Regions from separate parts of the Homo sapiens genome. Here regions 2 and 3 are each linked to region 1. Evidence: promoter capture Hi-C in 16 types of primary human blood cells and fetal thymus (Javierre and others, 2016). All regions are on one chromosome and are shown on one strand. Each heading gives the region's core, a stretch centred on a gene start or on the middle of the fragment in contact. The rest is flanking DNA. Distances are from core to core; before and after follow the strand shown.

What was found. The method cuts DNA at HindIII sites, captures the fragments that hold promoters and counts their contacts. A CHiCAGO score of 5 or more calls a contact.
Region 2: the fragment with the promoter of CDKN2AIP here is called in contact with the fragment with the promoter of AGA in region 1 in 2 of 17 cell types (naive CD8 T cells and naive B cells); the score reaches 7.5 in naive CD8 T cells.
Region 3: a fragment that was not itself captured here is called in contact with the fragment with the promoter of AGA in region 1 in 1 of 17 cell types (total B cells); the score reaches 6.1 in total B cells.

The regions. Positions count from the first base shown.
Region 1 is chr4:177,441,187-177,444,968 of GRCh38, reverse strand. It overlaps AGA (aspartylglucosaminidase), which reads left to right and starts at 2,532. Exons shown (of 9, transcript NM_000027.4): 1 at 2,532-2,720. The coding sequence starts at 2,594. It also overlaps a transcript of AGA-DT not described here. RefSeq lists enhancers at 1,867-1,946, 2,037-2,580, 3,407-3,486. The HindIII fragment of the contact is 8,233 bases long and covers 1-3,782 here.
Region 2 is chr4:183,442,389-183,447,547 of GRCh38, reverse strand. CDKN2AIP (CDKN2A interacting protein) reads right to left here and starts at 2,912. Exons shown (of 3, transcript NM_017632.4): 1 at 2,479-2,912; 2 at 1,883-2,013; 3 at 1-1,460. The coding sequence starts at 2,750. The coding sequence ends at 121. RefSeq lists an enhancer at 2,458-2,607 and a silencer at 2,888-3,437. The HindIII fragment of the contact is 3,011 bases long and covers 1,178-4,188 here.
Region 3 is chr4:182,916,189-182,921,347 of GRCh38, reverse strand. DCTD (dCMP deaminase) reads left to right here and starts at 3,962. Exons shown (of 6, transcript NM_001921.3): 1 at 3,962-4,037. RefSeq lists an enhancer at 1,998-2,047 and a silencer at 3,621-4,330. The HindIII fragment of the contact is 487 bases long and covers 2,375-2,861 here.

The DNA.
Region 1 (3,782 bases), core at 1,283-3,782:
TCCCGCCCCCCTTCCTTATCATTTAAAGGGACCACGCCCTTCCCTTCCCAGCATTCCCTTCCCAGCACTTTCCTGCGGCATCACTACCTGTTAACAGGTGTTCCTTTTCGTTTAGATTTACCTCAAAACAACGGCGAAGGATCTAATTATATTTAGGCCCAAAAGAGCACCTAAGTGAGAGTAACAGAAGGTTACTTCTAGAACTAAAATGAAAATTATTCTTCAAGTGTTAGTCAAAGGAAAACTACTCCAGAAGGAACCAAATATCCAGACGAATTTAACTTAAGAAACAGCTACAATTTAGGCAAACTGGACAGTGGATCCAGTAGGTATTTTAGTAGCCACTAAGAAGACACTGAATCGGGTAGATTCTATAGGGATTGCATATTAGTTATTTAAATACAAATATCCGGCTGGGCACGGTGGCTCACACCTGTAATCCCAGCATTTTGGGAGGTCGGGGGGGTGGGGGCGGTGGGTGGATCACCTGTGTCAGGAGTTCAAGACCAACCTGGCCAAAATGGCAAAACCTGTCTCTACTTAAAATACAAAAATTAGCCGGGCATGGTAGTAGGCAGTAGCAATCCCAGCTACTCAGGAGGCTGGGGCAAGAGAATCGCTTGAATGCAGGAGGTGGAGGTTGCAGTGAGCTGAGATTACACCAGTGAACTCCAGCCTGGGCGATAGAGCAAGACTCCATCTCAAAAAATAAATACATACATACATACATACATACAAATATCCATGGAAAAGTTGATATATTGAGACCTTCTATCAGCCATTCCCACTATAGTGTAATTTAGCTGTTTCTCTGACAGGAATTTTTATTTAAGAAGAAAGAATTTGGAGAAATAGACATAGTAGGAGGTAACAGATCAGGCTCTTTCCACCAGAAGAAACACAAATACCTTAAAAAACAGGAAGAGGCTAGAGAGATCAGTGGGGTACTAAGACCAATTTTCCATGTATTGTATTTTACAATTTTTGCTAAAGGCATGTCCTAATTCCTTAAGGCTGCATAAAAATACTCAGCCCAGGAGCTAAGGAAAATTTACTCAGAGGACAATGTATGTTTTTCTGGCTTTCTTACCCTGTTTCACCCAAGTTTCCAGTTTCACCTGCCATTGGGTTATGATTACTCCAGCACAGATGACTTGTTCCTCTTCCAAACCCCATGAAAGGAACTTAGAAAATTTGTCTTTATTATATCTTTTAATTAACACTTCCCCAACGGGATAATGATACTTCTGGGCTATCTTATGTTCTTTAAATTATGTATTTAATTTCCTAGCAATCAATAAGAGCCTTGAAGGTTTTGTAAGTCTCACAACTCCTACCTAGTTTATATTTTTACATTTATTTATTTATTTATTTTTGAGACAGAATCTCACTCTGTTGTCCAGGCTGGAGTGAAGTGGTGCGATCTCGGCTCACCACAATCTCCACCTCCCGGCTTCAAGCAATTCTGCCTCAGCCTCCCAAGTAGTTGGGACTACAGGCATGCACCACCACGCCCGGCTAATTTTTGTATTTTTAGTAGAGACGGGTTTCACTATGTTGGCCAGGCTGGTCTCGAACTCCTGACCTCGTGATCCACCCACCTCAGCATCCCAAAGTGTTGGGATTACAGGCGTGAGCCATCGTGCCCAGCCTAGTTCATATTTTTAAAGTTTGTATAGATTTATAGATGCTTTTAAAAATTATGTGATTATGTGTCTTGCCTTGGCAACCTGGGCAGGCATTCCAGACACCCAAAGGGATTATTAGTTCATGTTCGCACGTCTGCCCAGCAACAAAACTGAGCAGCCTCCACCAAGCACGTAAAATCCCCATTCCTCCTCTTATTCATTTATTTAGCACTTAATAGTGCCAGGCAGGAAGGTAAAAATACATTTAAAAAGGAATGGAGGTAGCCGTCTTGCCCTGGAGGTGCAGGAAGCTGCACTTCAGTGTGCTAGGTAGAGGGTACATAGGCCGTTTCTGTTTTTCTTCCAGCTCAGGGATTTATAATGAGAGGAAGTGCTACAAAAAGCTGTGGTGCGAAAATGACGGACGCTATGAATGGAAAAAAAATCTAAAATCAATCCGGTCCTAAGCAAACACGCTTCACCTACACTCATAACTATTGCAGACCTCCGAGGCCTGGGATCCCCAAGAATATACTGAGTTTGACAAACTTTTCAACTTCAACTTTAAATTAAAAAGACAGTAAAAGAACCAAATCCATAGTACACAGCAATCGGCTAAAGTTCCTGGGGCCCTGCAACCCAGAGTTGAATAATTTTGTATTAAATTCCCAATATCAAGCTAAATCTATTTTAACCACAGGAAAAGCAGCAACTTGTCTGGCTATTTTAAAAATCTGAACAGCACTTAGGAAGAAGCACCTTAGCGCAGGGAACAGCTCAGTGCCCCGTGACACAACTCTCCCGCGGGCCCAGGGACGCCTCGTCTCGCGAGAGTTGAGGGACGCCTGAGCGAACCCCCGAGAGAGCGGGCGTGGGCGCCAGGCGGGCGGGGCACTGGGGATTAATTGTTCGGCGATCGCTGGCTGCCGGGACTTTTCTCGCGCTGGTCTCTTCGGTGGTCAGGGATGGCGCGGAAGTCGAACTTGCCTGTGCTTCTCGTGCCGTTTCTGCTCTGCCAGGCCCTAGTGCGCTGCTCCAGCCCTCTGCCCCTGGTCGTCAACACTTGGCCCTTTAAGAATGCAACCGAAGCAGGTGCGGGTTGGCGGCCTGGGCGGGCGGCTGCGCCGCGAGAGCTTGCGGGTGGGGATGACTAGCCCGCCCCGCTGCAGTCACCCGGCAGGGCGGACGGAAGAGCGCCGGGCTGGGCCGGGCCTCGCGGTCCCGCCCTCTAGGTCTTCCCGAGTCTCCAGCGCCGCTCAGTCTCTTGCAAGTGGCCTTTACTGCATCCTCCCCACCTACCGCTGTTGCATTTTAGGTCCTCCCTTCATGCAGCCCCCAGCGCAATGTATTTTCCACCCTGCTGCTGACCATAGTTATGGCCTTTGTGCTTTAATCAAGTAGCAGCTACGCTTTTCTGCCTGACAGTCTTTTCACGGGCTGTGTACGTCTCCACCTCTCGTTTCTAATCCTTCACTTCTTTGCAATTTTGTAGACGACTAATAGTGTCCCAGCCATAGCCTACTCTTTTCCCATTTACTTTTTTTGCCACGTGTTGTCATACTTTACCTGCCACTTAGAATTCAAGGTTCCAACCTTTGCTGTACATTCACACTATCTGGGGAGCTTCTCAAAAATCATCCTGCCGGGGCCCACCTCCTGTGACTGTGATCTAACTGCTGGAATCAGGGCCACTGTTTTTCTTTAAAAAGCTCCCTAGGTGATTTCGATTTGCAGACAGGGTTGAGAACCACTAAGCTAAGGTATCACCTCTTCCAGGAAGCGTTCCCTGACTTAACTGCCCTCGTGTCCAGAATGAGTTAGGTTCCTGCCTTCTACACCTTGTTAATAGCCTTTACGTACCATTATCTTGGCATTTTCGCATTGTACTATGCTTGTTTCTTTCATTTGCTTAATGACCAGAAGAGTCATTTTCAGACCCCTCCTCCTCCATCTGAGGTTGCTAACGTATTAACTTTCTAGGGCAGAATTGGCTCCAGAATTTGGTGGCAGTGCATACGATTCAGAGAAAATGAAGAAGCAGGCTGTGAGAAAGATATTCCCAGCCATAATGAGACGAAAAGAAATTGCATCAGCCTGGGCGGGGGACAGTTCTGTGTTTAAGTTGCCTGTATTGAAAGAGGGAACTTGCGTAAA
Region 2 (5,159 bases), core at 1,663-4,162, 6.0 Mb before region 1:
TTTCTGCAAAACTGGAAAAAAAGCAATACAAAATTTGTGAAAGCCTGTGTTTTATACTATACAAAAGTCAGTTTTTCTCTTCAAATACCAGATATTGTATGCAGTGATATTTTGGACACATTATAGTAATTCTTGAGGATGTTTTAGTGCTGGAGGTAAGTTTACAGGCCTCGATTCTTCATCAAGGAGTACTAGATCTTCTATTTCACTGCCTCTGTATTTCCTTTTACATATTTTTACCACCACCTTTTTCTTGAGAAATAACTTCAATGCTTCTCTTGATGCAACTGCTTTTGCATTTTCTTTGCTTTTTCCACAGCCAGTGCCCAAATACACAGACTTGCACCTCAATTCACAAACAATACTTTCTTGAGAGCTCTTATTTTGAGGCAGATCTGCCAATTCTTTTAGTGGGACAAAAAATACATCCAGTGTTGCTTTCAGAGCCTCAATAGCTGCATTTAGGAGCTCTCCATGATTCACATTGGGACTAAAGCCACCAACAGCTACCAACTTCCATGCCACCGTTTTATATAGTCTATTGAAAAAAGGTTGCTTCTGTTTCACATCTTCATTGGTTAACTTGCAAGAGAATTTGACAGAACTCTCACTTGACTGTGAAGTACTTTTAGAAGGCAACTGTGAGGTGCTAGTCTGAGAACTACTCTTAGAAGCCAACTGGGACACACTTGCTAAGGAAGTGCTTTTGGAAACCAGAGATCCACTGGTCTGGGAGCTGCTCTTGGAAGCTAGTAGTGATGCAGCTACCTGGGAAGTGCTCTTGGAAGTTAGCAGCGATGTATTTGTTGAAGAGCTGCTCTTGGGAGTCAGTAAGGATGTGCCTGATGAGGAACTGTTTTTAGCAACTGATGATGAAACACTTGCCTCTGAACTAGTTTTGGAAGTTAACCCACTTGAAGCTGTCTCTGAACTAGGTTTGGAAGACAATAGTGGCAATTCTACCTCTGAGCTTCCTGAGGAGCCCAACAAGGGCACCTCGATCTCTGAGCTGCTTTGAGAAGCTGAGGCTGAAGAGCCTTCCAAAGCACTCTTTTTAGGTGATCCACTTTGTTGTCTAGAATCAGTGGATTGGGTCATGTGACTATTCACACTGGATTTCAGCAAGGAAACAAATGATGCAGAACCGTGTTTATCTGGAGCTTCTGCTTCAGAAGCTTTCCCAGATCCTGCCGTTGTTACCTGAGAGGAAACGCTGCTGCTGCTTTGGCTGGAAACAGATCGATCTCCATCACTTGTAGAGCTATTCTGACTGGAGATGCCAGAGCTCCGAGCTGAGTTCCCACTCTCTGATTTGATGGCCGACCCTATACACGTTGAACTGTTTTCCTGCTGAGCTGATGCACGTTCTGTCTTGGCAGAGGTTTTTGCGTGATCTTGCTCAACTGCAGAACTGTTTTTTCCTTCTATAACTCGTTTTTTGGATGGCTCTTCTACCCCTTCTAAAAAGAAGAAAAACATAGATATGTGACTAAGAATACCTCGTACAAAACGGGTGATGAGACAAATACACATTAAAATAAAGGCACAAAGTGAAAACATTTCAAGACTAATCGTTTCTTTAAAAAGTGTGGAGTCATTAATTTCTTAAAACAGTGTTGAATAACATCATGAATGTCTAATATTAAAAAAATAACAGCATCAGACAACAGTGGACACTTCAAAATCTAAAGCAGTCAAAGCAAACTATCAAATTCAAAGCCTAAAGACACAGATATATACTTTAGGTTTAACATTCCAACTTTATTACTTATTAATAACATAAAAATTCTGGCTTGTTAAAAAAATTAGTAACAATAATTCCTAATTATATCAAACTTATGCTCTAAACTCCTATGTATGTTCACATCTATGATCTGCTAACCATTGCTACTCGATATCCCTCTTTTCTTCACCTTGGCAACCAGTTCATCTCTTGTTGTATAGGTTGGAGCATCTGTCACTTTGATGCCTTCAGCCATACTAAGTATTTTATCCATAACTTTTTGAGGGTATCTGAAAAAGAAGGAAAAGTCATTTTTAAAAAGTGTTTTTTCTAAGGTCCTACTTGTGCAAAAAACAGGCCACAGGGACTGCATTTCCTGGCTGCAATCAAGAAAGTGAACCAACCGCCAAGAACTGTTTCCTGGAACCCCATAAACAAGTGCCCCAGGGTCTGGGAGGCAGGGCACCTCCTCACTAATCTTAAATCTCGCACCCGTCCCCAAGAGCGTTGTTCCCTAACACAAGCAACCCTACCAGCAGCTGCGCCCACACCACCGGGCACACAGACGTCCGGGAATCATGTCGGCTCCTCGCAGGGACGCCCTTCTCCCCCTTAGAGGGCAGCCGGGCCGGCGGATTCCCGCGCTTCACAACTTCCCCTCCCCGCCGAGGCCGGTCCCGCGGAGGGCGCCGGGCCCCGGTCTGCAGGTGGCACACAAAACGAGGCGTGCTGGTTAGGGACGCTGCCTCACTCACCGGCACCCGAGGAAGACGTGGTTCGCCCAGGCCATGGAAAAGGAGATGAGCTGCTGCAGCTGCCGGTTTCGGGTCCCGCTCTCGGCGTCGGCAGCTTCATCCGTGCTAGCGGAGGCAGCGCCGCCAGCGGGGGCCAGGTCCCCGGCGTTGCGAAGCAAAAAATCCCGGCGGTGGCGCCAGTGTTTGTCAGTCTCGCCGTCGCAGCGCAGCGCCTCCACCCAGGCTGCCACCCGCGGGTTCTGGCTCAGGTACTCCGACACCTCCTGCGCCATGTTGGGCCTGCAGGCCGCGAACACAGCTGCACCGGGAGACAGGCAGGACTAGCGGGGCGAGCGGCCCTGTCACTGCGGCCTGCACCCGCGGCCCTCCAGATAACGCCCCTCCGCAGGCCTAAAGACCAAACAACAGCGCCCAGAGCCGCCGAACCGCCCACTTCCGCCCACCGCCGGCTTCTTCCCTTTTATAACCTCGCCGCCGCCGCGCGCCCTCGCGTTCTTCCGGCGCGAGCCGGCGCTCCCAAGACGCTTTGCGGCGCCGGGGCCGCTGCGACGCTGCGTCCCCGTGAGGCCACGGAGGGCACCCCGGGGGTGAGGTGGGCGGGCGTCGGGCGTCTCCCGCCCCACGAGGGCGGACTGCAAGTCGAGCTGGCCTGGGACGACCGAGTCTCGGCGGAACCCCGGGCGTTCTGTCCTCGCTTTGTGACGCCGCGCGCTCCTGCCGTCCTCCTCCCCCGCCGGGTCAGCTGCGGCGCCGGGAGCAGAGGCGAGAGGGGCAGGGCCCGGGCAAGGGAGGCAGCCGGGCGCGGCGGCCAAAGTCCGCTAGGGGGGCGTCCCGGGGGACCTTGAGCCGCCCGCAGCCGCGGGGCCTGTGGTCTCCGCCCTGAGACGCCTGTGTGTGAGCGGGGCCAAAACAAACAAAAGCCGGCCTCCATGTTAGAGTGTTGGGAGCTGCGTCTCGCGCTGCTTTCAGTGTGCCCGAGCGAAGCGTTCCGAGGCCGTCGGGGTCTCCGCGCCTTCAGGAGGGCGGGAGTGCCAGTCCCCTTACATAGCAGCAGTAGACAGTAAGGTCACACGAGGACCTGGCTCCGTGTTGCCGTGAGGCTTGCAGCCTTCGAAGCTGGCCCTGGCCCCGCAGCGGTAGGGCTTGTTCCCGCAGTTTATTAGGTCTCTAGTTAATCCAGGCATTGCCTTCCTGTTCTGGTCAGTAGGAAAACAACACCCCGACAACGCTCTGTCTCTAGAATTTCCTAAAATCAACAGCTTTACCACCAACCGGCAGATGTCCGGAGGTGGAGTGGAAATGTACCTATTTATCTATAGGGCCCCAAACCTCTCTCCCTGTTAGAGCTGTTTTTTCCTTCTATATATTTTTTTCCACTTTACATTTCCCACAGTTACGTACTCTAACTGCTGGCTGGCTTATTGTTACGTTTCCCATTCCAGGTATACATGCACTGTAAGATAAATACGTTAAATGATATAAATTATGAAATTTTTCTTTCAATAAATGTAGACTTTGATGTAAAAATGCATGAATCAGAATAAGCAAGCAAAAAAAGGTCACTTTAGGTAAGATCAGATAAGGTTAACTGTGTAATTTATGTGCATGCTGGAACAAAATACAGCTATTGTATGAAAACAATATTGCCCATTTTCCTGCCATACCAAAAGAAACTACATAAAAACGGAGGCACAAAGAAATTTTGAAGCTTTGTGATTTTGCTTCTAGTTTGCTGTTCTTTCCTCCTTTTCACAGATAATTGCTGAAAATCTAGAGGGGGTGGACGGATTGCAGAAATCTGGCTATTTAAAAGGTGGAGAAATTACGATTTCTCCTTTCATGAATTCTTTGGCAAGGGGACCATGGCAAGTAAAAGAAGCTATGATCGCATACCTAGATTATATATGTGCATTTTAAATCAAGAATGTTCTCACGGCCAGGTGCAGTGGCTCACGCCTGTAATCCCAGCACCTTGGGAGGCCGAGGCGGACGAATCATGAGGTCAGGAGTTCGAGACCAGCCTGGCCAATGTAGTGAAACCCCATCTCTACTAAAAATACAAAAGTTAGCCAAGTGTGGTGGCACGTGCCTGTAGTCCCAGCTACTCTGTAGGCCGAGGCGGGAGAATCGCTTGAACTCAGGAGGCAGAGGTTGCAGTGAGCCGAGACCAAGCCATTGCACTCCAGCCTGGGTGACAGAGTGAGACTTCATCTCAAAAAATAATAATAATAATGTTCTCACTTTTTTTCTTGTTGCCCTGTAGTCTTCTTCCCACTCATGGGCTTCATTGCCTTGAAAGGAGAACAAGTAGAGCCTGAATTTCAAACAATTTTTTTAATTATAATAAAAGCGATAGAGTCTGAAAGATGGAGTACTTGTGCAAAAACCAGGTGCTTGGAATAAAAGATACATGCATTTTTCTTTTTTGATTCTTAAAAAGTTGACTTTGCATATAAAGATTCAAAGACTATGAACCACAAGTAGCTGGGACTGCAGGCGGGTACCACGACGACAGGCTAATTTTTTATTTTTTTGTAGAAACAAGGTTTCACTGTTGTCCAGGCTGGTTTTGAACTCCTAATATCAAGCAATTCTTCTGCCTCGGCCTCTCAAAGTGCTGGGATTATAGGCATGAGTCGCTGTGCCCGGCCTCATTTTTTTTTAAAGACCCTCCCACCTAC
Region 3 (5,159 bases), core at 1,369-3,868, 5.5 Mb before region 1:
GTAGAACCAGAGTTCACAGACAAAGACTTCTCTCTATGAGTTAGATGCTCCAAACAATTTGGCATAGAACAATGATTTTCTATTAACTCATTTATTTAGTCAACAAATATTTATTAATAAAAAACGGCAAAACACCCAGCTTTGTGCATATGCCATGTTAACATTTCCTTATTGATCTTCATTGAAAAAAAAGATTTTTTTTTTTTTGAGATGGGGTCTCCCTCTGTCACTCAAGCTGGAGTGCAGTGGTGCAGTCACAGCTCACTACAGCCTCAACCTTCTAGGCTCGAGCAATCTTCCCTCCTCAGCCTCCTGAGCAGCTGGGACTACAGGCATGCACCACCATGCTTGGCTCATTTAAAACTTTTTTTTTTTTTTTTTTTTGCAGAGACTGGGTCTTGCATAGCCCAGGCTGGTCTCAAATTCCTGGGCTCAAGCGATCCTCCCACCTTGGCCTGCCACTTTGCTGGGATTACAGGAGTGAGTTCATTACAACAAACCCGGCCCTTCATTGTAATTTTGAAGATGTATAATGACAAAGTAATTGGTGGCTTCAACTCATAACAAAAACGCTGTTTAGGGATCCTGATTTTTTTTCTGATAGGAGTGCTCTGTCATGTCAATTTGCAGTCTGTATGCCCTTCATGGAACACAAACAACTGACCTCATGCTCTAACATACATACGAAAATGTATATACAGGTTGAATATCCCTTCTCCAAAATGCTTAGGACCAGAAGTGTTTCAGGTTTTGGATTTTTTCAGATTTGGGAATATGTGCATATATGTAATGAGGTGTCCTGGGGATGGGACCCAAATCTAAACACAATATATATTTATGTTTAATATACACCTTACATACATAGCCTGGAAGTAGTTTGACAGGATATTTTTCATAATTTTGTGCACCTATCACATGAGGTCAGGTGTGAATTTCCCACTTGTGGGAGTGTCAGCACTCAAAAAGTTTCAGATCTTAGAGCATTTTGGATTTTGAATTTTCAGGTTAGGGATGCTCAACCTGTACTGTATTGATAAGACCACATATTTATTTTTTTCTAGAATTTTCATTGTGACTTTTTTGTGGTTTAGCAGACTTACAGTCATCCCTTACTTAAGATTTAAAAAGAGTTTTCTCTAGTTTGCACTTTAGCATGGAAACATAAACAATTATTCCTTTGAAAACCAGTCAAAGTGGCACTTTGCCTCTAAGTGCAGTTGTTATGCAAAGGAGTTTTTGGTCCTGACTGACAACCACCAAATTAAGAACAACAGGCAGTTTATAACAACATTTACTATGTTCACTGGGCCAGCAATAAGGTTCATTTTTTTCTGTGTTTATTTGCGGAGAGGGGAATGTGAGGGCAAGAACTGGCTTATAGTATCCATCATGGTATTTACAGCACTTAGCACATAGCAGGGAATTAATAAAAAATGAATATTGTTGATTTTACAGAGACTCCAAGAATGGAAGTAGCTTCTCAAGGTTACTCGGGTTGTAAGAAGTGGGAGTAGGGTTCAAAGTCTGGTCTGACTCCAAGGCCGGTGCTCTTTCTCTCATGACAAACTTGATGGACAGATTGGCCACCTTCCTGACTCCTTGCCTCTGTTTCCCCAGTCACAGGTCTCATCCTTACCTTGGCAGGCAGAGGAGGTGGAAGGAGGGGCAGGTAGTATCTCGGTACGGCAGACATTTGCAAATGCCATCAACCCCTCTTCTGAGGCAGCCCTGGAAGAGTCTTACCTTGACTTCTGTTTTTAATCGGGATCCCCTACCTAAGGCACACTGAAATATTAATATATTCCAGGTTATGCTCTAGACTAGACATAGATAGCACGAAACCCCATAAACAAAAGGGCCAAGACAGTAGTCCTTAGGAATGTGCTGATTGGGTTCAACCTGTGTGAGGCCCTCAAGGAAGGCCAATCTAGATAGGGCTGAACACATACCTAACCTCTGTATCTGTAGTAGGTGGAGAAAGATCCTCAATTATAAGCCCAAATACAAGGTATTAGCAAGAGAGATTTAACACCTACAGTCACACTTGGAGTTACAAGGTGTTAATGAGAAAGACATACCAAGGAATATATTTCTCCCCCCTTTGGCCGCGTGGCTTCACTATTGGTGTACAATATTTGAAACCTCAAGTTGTGAAACTCTGAACCAGGAGGGTTTCCTGTATTATGAATGATGTCATCTTTAAGATGAGGGACTTTCAGTGAAATGCGGGAACATTCAGGGTAATGTGTTTTCAGCAAGCAGGAGCTTGAATTTATGGCAGAGGGGAGTGTGTGAGTTGACCAAAATGGAGAGTGATGAGAAGTAACTAAATTATGTATGACAGTCTTTACCGAGCAGAGGAAGGAAGAAAGCTTAATGATGTTGTGGTTGAAGGAGCAGCAGCAATTGGTGATGTATGGGTTGTAGGTTGGTAAGAAGAGAAATGGATCTATGAAGACCCAAAGACTGTAGATGAGTGTGACAAAGACCAAGCGGTGGATTTGGGAGGAGGAGGGAAACCAGGGGCTCGGGATATATGACACATTTTAGCGGCAACAAGACAGCCATGTAAAGTCAACTTGAAATTAAAAATCATCATCTTAATCTATGTGGCTCTTTCAAGCCTGAGTCTTATCAAGGCAAAAAAAAAAAAAAAAAAATCTATAGTTAACGATGAAGTATTTCTCCCTTTTGCTTTCCCGGCATCCACCAAGAGCAGTACATAATTTAATTATTGAATCTACAAGCTGGACCATGAGATGAAGAATGATGTGTCTGCTGTAGTGAGAAATTAGATAGAACCAACTGTTTACTCTCATCATTCTTCCTCCGTTAGGCTAAATTAATATAGTTAACAAGCTTTTGTTTGGAATAGCAGTTCAAATCTGGGATGTGCAGATCAGAACTGGCGATTATTACAGTAGCTGTTATTTATGGAGTGCTGACAGTCCCCTCAAGTCCCATGAATGAAACAGAAAGGGGTTCTTCTGTCATTCTCTGTGCTAGAACCACTGTAAGGGGCTAGACGTCTGCACAGGGTAACGAAGTTCATGAAAACCAGATTAAGTTGCTTGGGGCATACGACTCCAGAAATGTCACTGATGGTCTTTCCTATTGCCCTGTTTTTCTCATCTTTGAAACAACTGCAACAAAATGTGCACTATATAAGTGGGCGAGCATTACCAGGAGGTAACATGCAGGTGGGGTGCCTGTGCGGTGATACGGGTCGAGCAGGGCGCGGCAGGCTTTAGCAAACACCTCAGGCCCTTCCGCACAATTTGAGCAGAAACTGAAAGCCTGTCAGGCGCAGCCAAATGCAAATCTAGCTTCGAGGCACTGAGCCTCGAGGCACAGCGCCCCCGCCGGACCCAGTTCCCTGCCCCATCCAGTGTGTGAAACTGTGACCCAGCCACCGGCCAAGGGTCCCCACGGGGACGCTGCGACACAGCGGGCTCACTCCAGAGACCCAAACCAGGTCTCCCCACCTCCCGCCCCGCCAGTTTCACGGCACTAGATTCTTGGGGTCGTCTTTTAATCACAATCTCCATAGCCGTGTCTCTAAGCAGTTGATGGAACACGGATGGTGGGGAAAACCTCACCACCGCCACCACCACCAAACCAAGCAGCCCCCGACGGTCGTGCAGTCAGGCCCGGGAGCGCCCAACTCGCGGCCACCCAGCGCCACGCGTGACCCGGGCAGCGGGGCGACCTCGGGGCGGTCTGGCACCCGGGAAGTAGTTTGTGCTCGGGCTCTGAACACCGCCGGCCGGACCGCGGGCTGCGTCACGGGGACCGGGAGGCGTACGGCGACGCGGAGCAGCGCCTTTGCGGCGTGCGACCCGCCCCCGCCGTCCCTCCCTCCCTCCCCTCAGGGCTTCGGGCCCCCGGGGCCAGCCGCCGTCCTGCGAACGCGCGGCGCCCGGGCCGCTGCCCCCTTCCGGCCCCGCGGCGGCCCCGCCTCCTCCCCCGACTTCCTTCCCTGAGCACGGCGGCGGCGGGGACGAGCACCGGCCTGCGCGCGGAGCCGGCACCGGATGGTGGGCGGGGGCCAGCCGTGCGGGTACGCGGCCCGCGCGCCCCTAGCCACCGCCGCGTGGCACCGTCCCGAGCGCGTGGCGCGGGGCGCTGGCTGCCGGGCGGGGGCCTGGGGCCGCGGACGCTGGGGGCGCCTCGGCCGCGCTCAGCCTTTAGATCGGAGAATGCGGGCGGGGTGGGGGCGCTCGGGGTCCCCGCAGTCACTCCAGGGTCGATTTCTCGGCGGGCGCCGCGGCCTGTGCGAGGCCGGGCCCCTTGGAGTGCCCCGGGAGGTGGTGCTGGGCGTCTGAACACCACATCCCTTCCTGCGCCCGTGTGTGGGTTGGGAATGCCGGGTGTAGGCCCTGGATCAGAGCTGACGGGGTTGCGAGCGGCGTGGGGTGTGCCTGGGACGGTGACCGGATGTGTCTTCCTGAATCGTTGTATTCGAGCTCCAGTTCTCTCTGTTTCTACAGCTGGGCCTCAGTCCTCACAGGGCTCTAGTGGGCGTTCAGCCACACCAGGAGAAGGCGCCCAGGGGATTAACAGGACCCTTCCCTCTCCTGCTCTTCCCTCGCCCCCCATGGCTCCCCCTCCCTCCTATTTAGTAGGTACTTCTCCAGCACCCCACAGCGATGATGGATGCTGGCCCTAAAGCCAGGTGGGAAACCAGGCTGATTCAGCACCTGTCTTTTCCTGTTAGGGGGGTTGCCAGGCCTCTCAGATGTGGGGCAGCGTAATCAGTGGGTGACCGTGGTTCCCAGCACCCACTCTCCACTGCATCCTTGTCTTAGGCACTGCCGCCCTGCACTGTAGCAGATGCCTAAATAAAGTGTGGAGCCTGAAGCAGAAGTTTTGGGAGATGCTTGCCTTCCTTTAGACCACATTCCTCGCCTTTCTCAAGATTTCTCCGTGGTACCCACCCCGTTTTTGTGTTGTCTTCCTTCCTTGCCCTTGTTTCATTCCTTTTGAAAGCGACCACTCCCCTGAAGTCCTAGGACCCCCTTCGTGGGCTCTCCCTGCCGTAGACAGTCTCTGCTTGCCCCTGGTAAACTACGTTCCAAAAACCTTGCTTTAGGAGTAGCACTTGACGTTTTTCATAGTTTCTTCTCATGTAATTCATTACTCGGAGTTGATAACTTCTG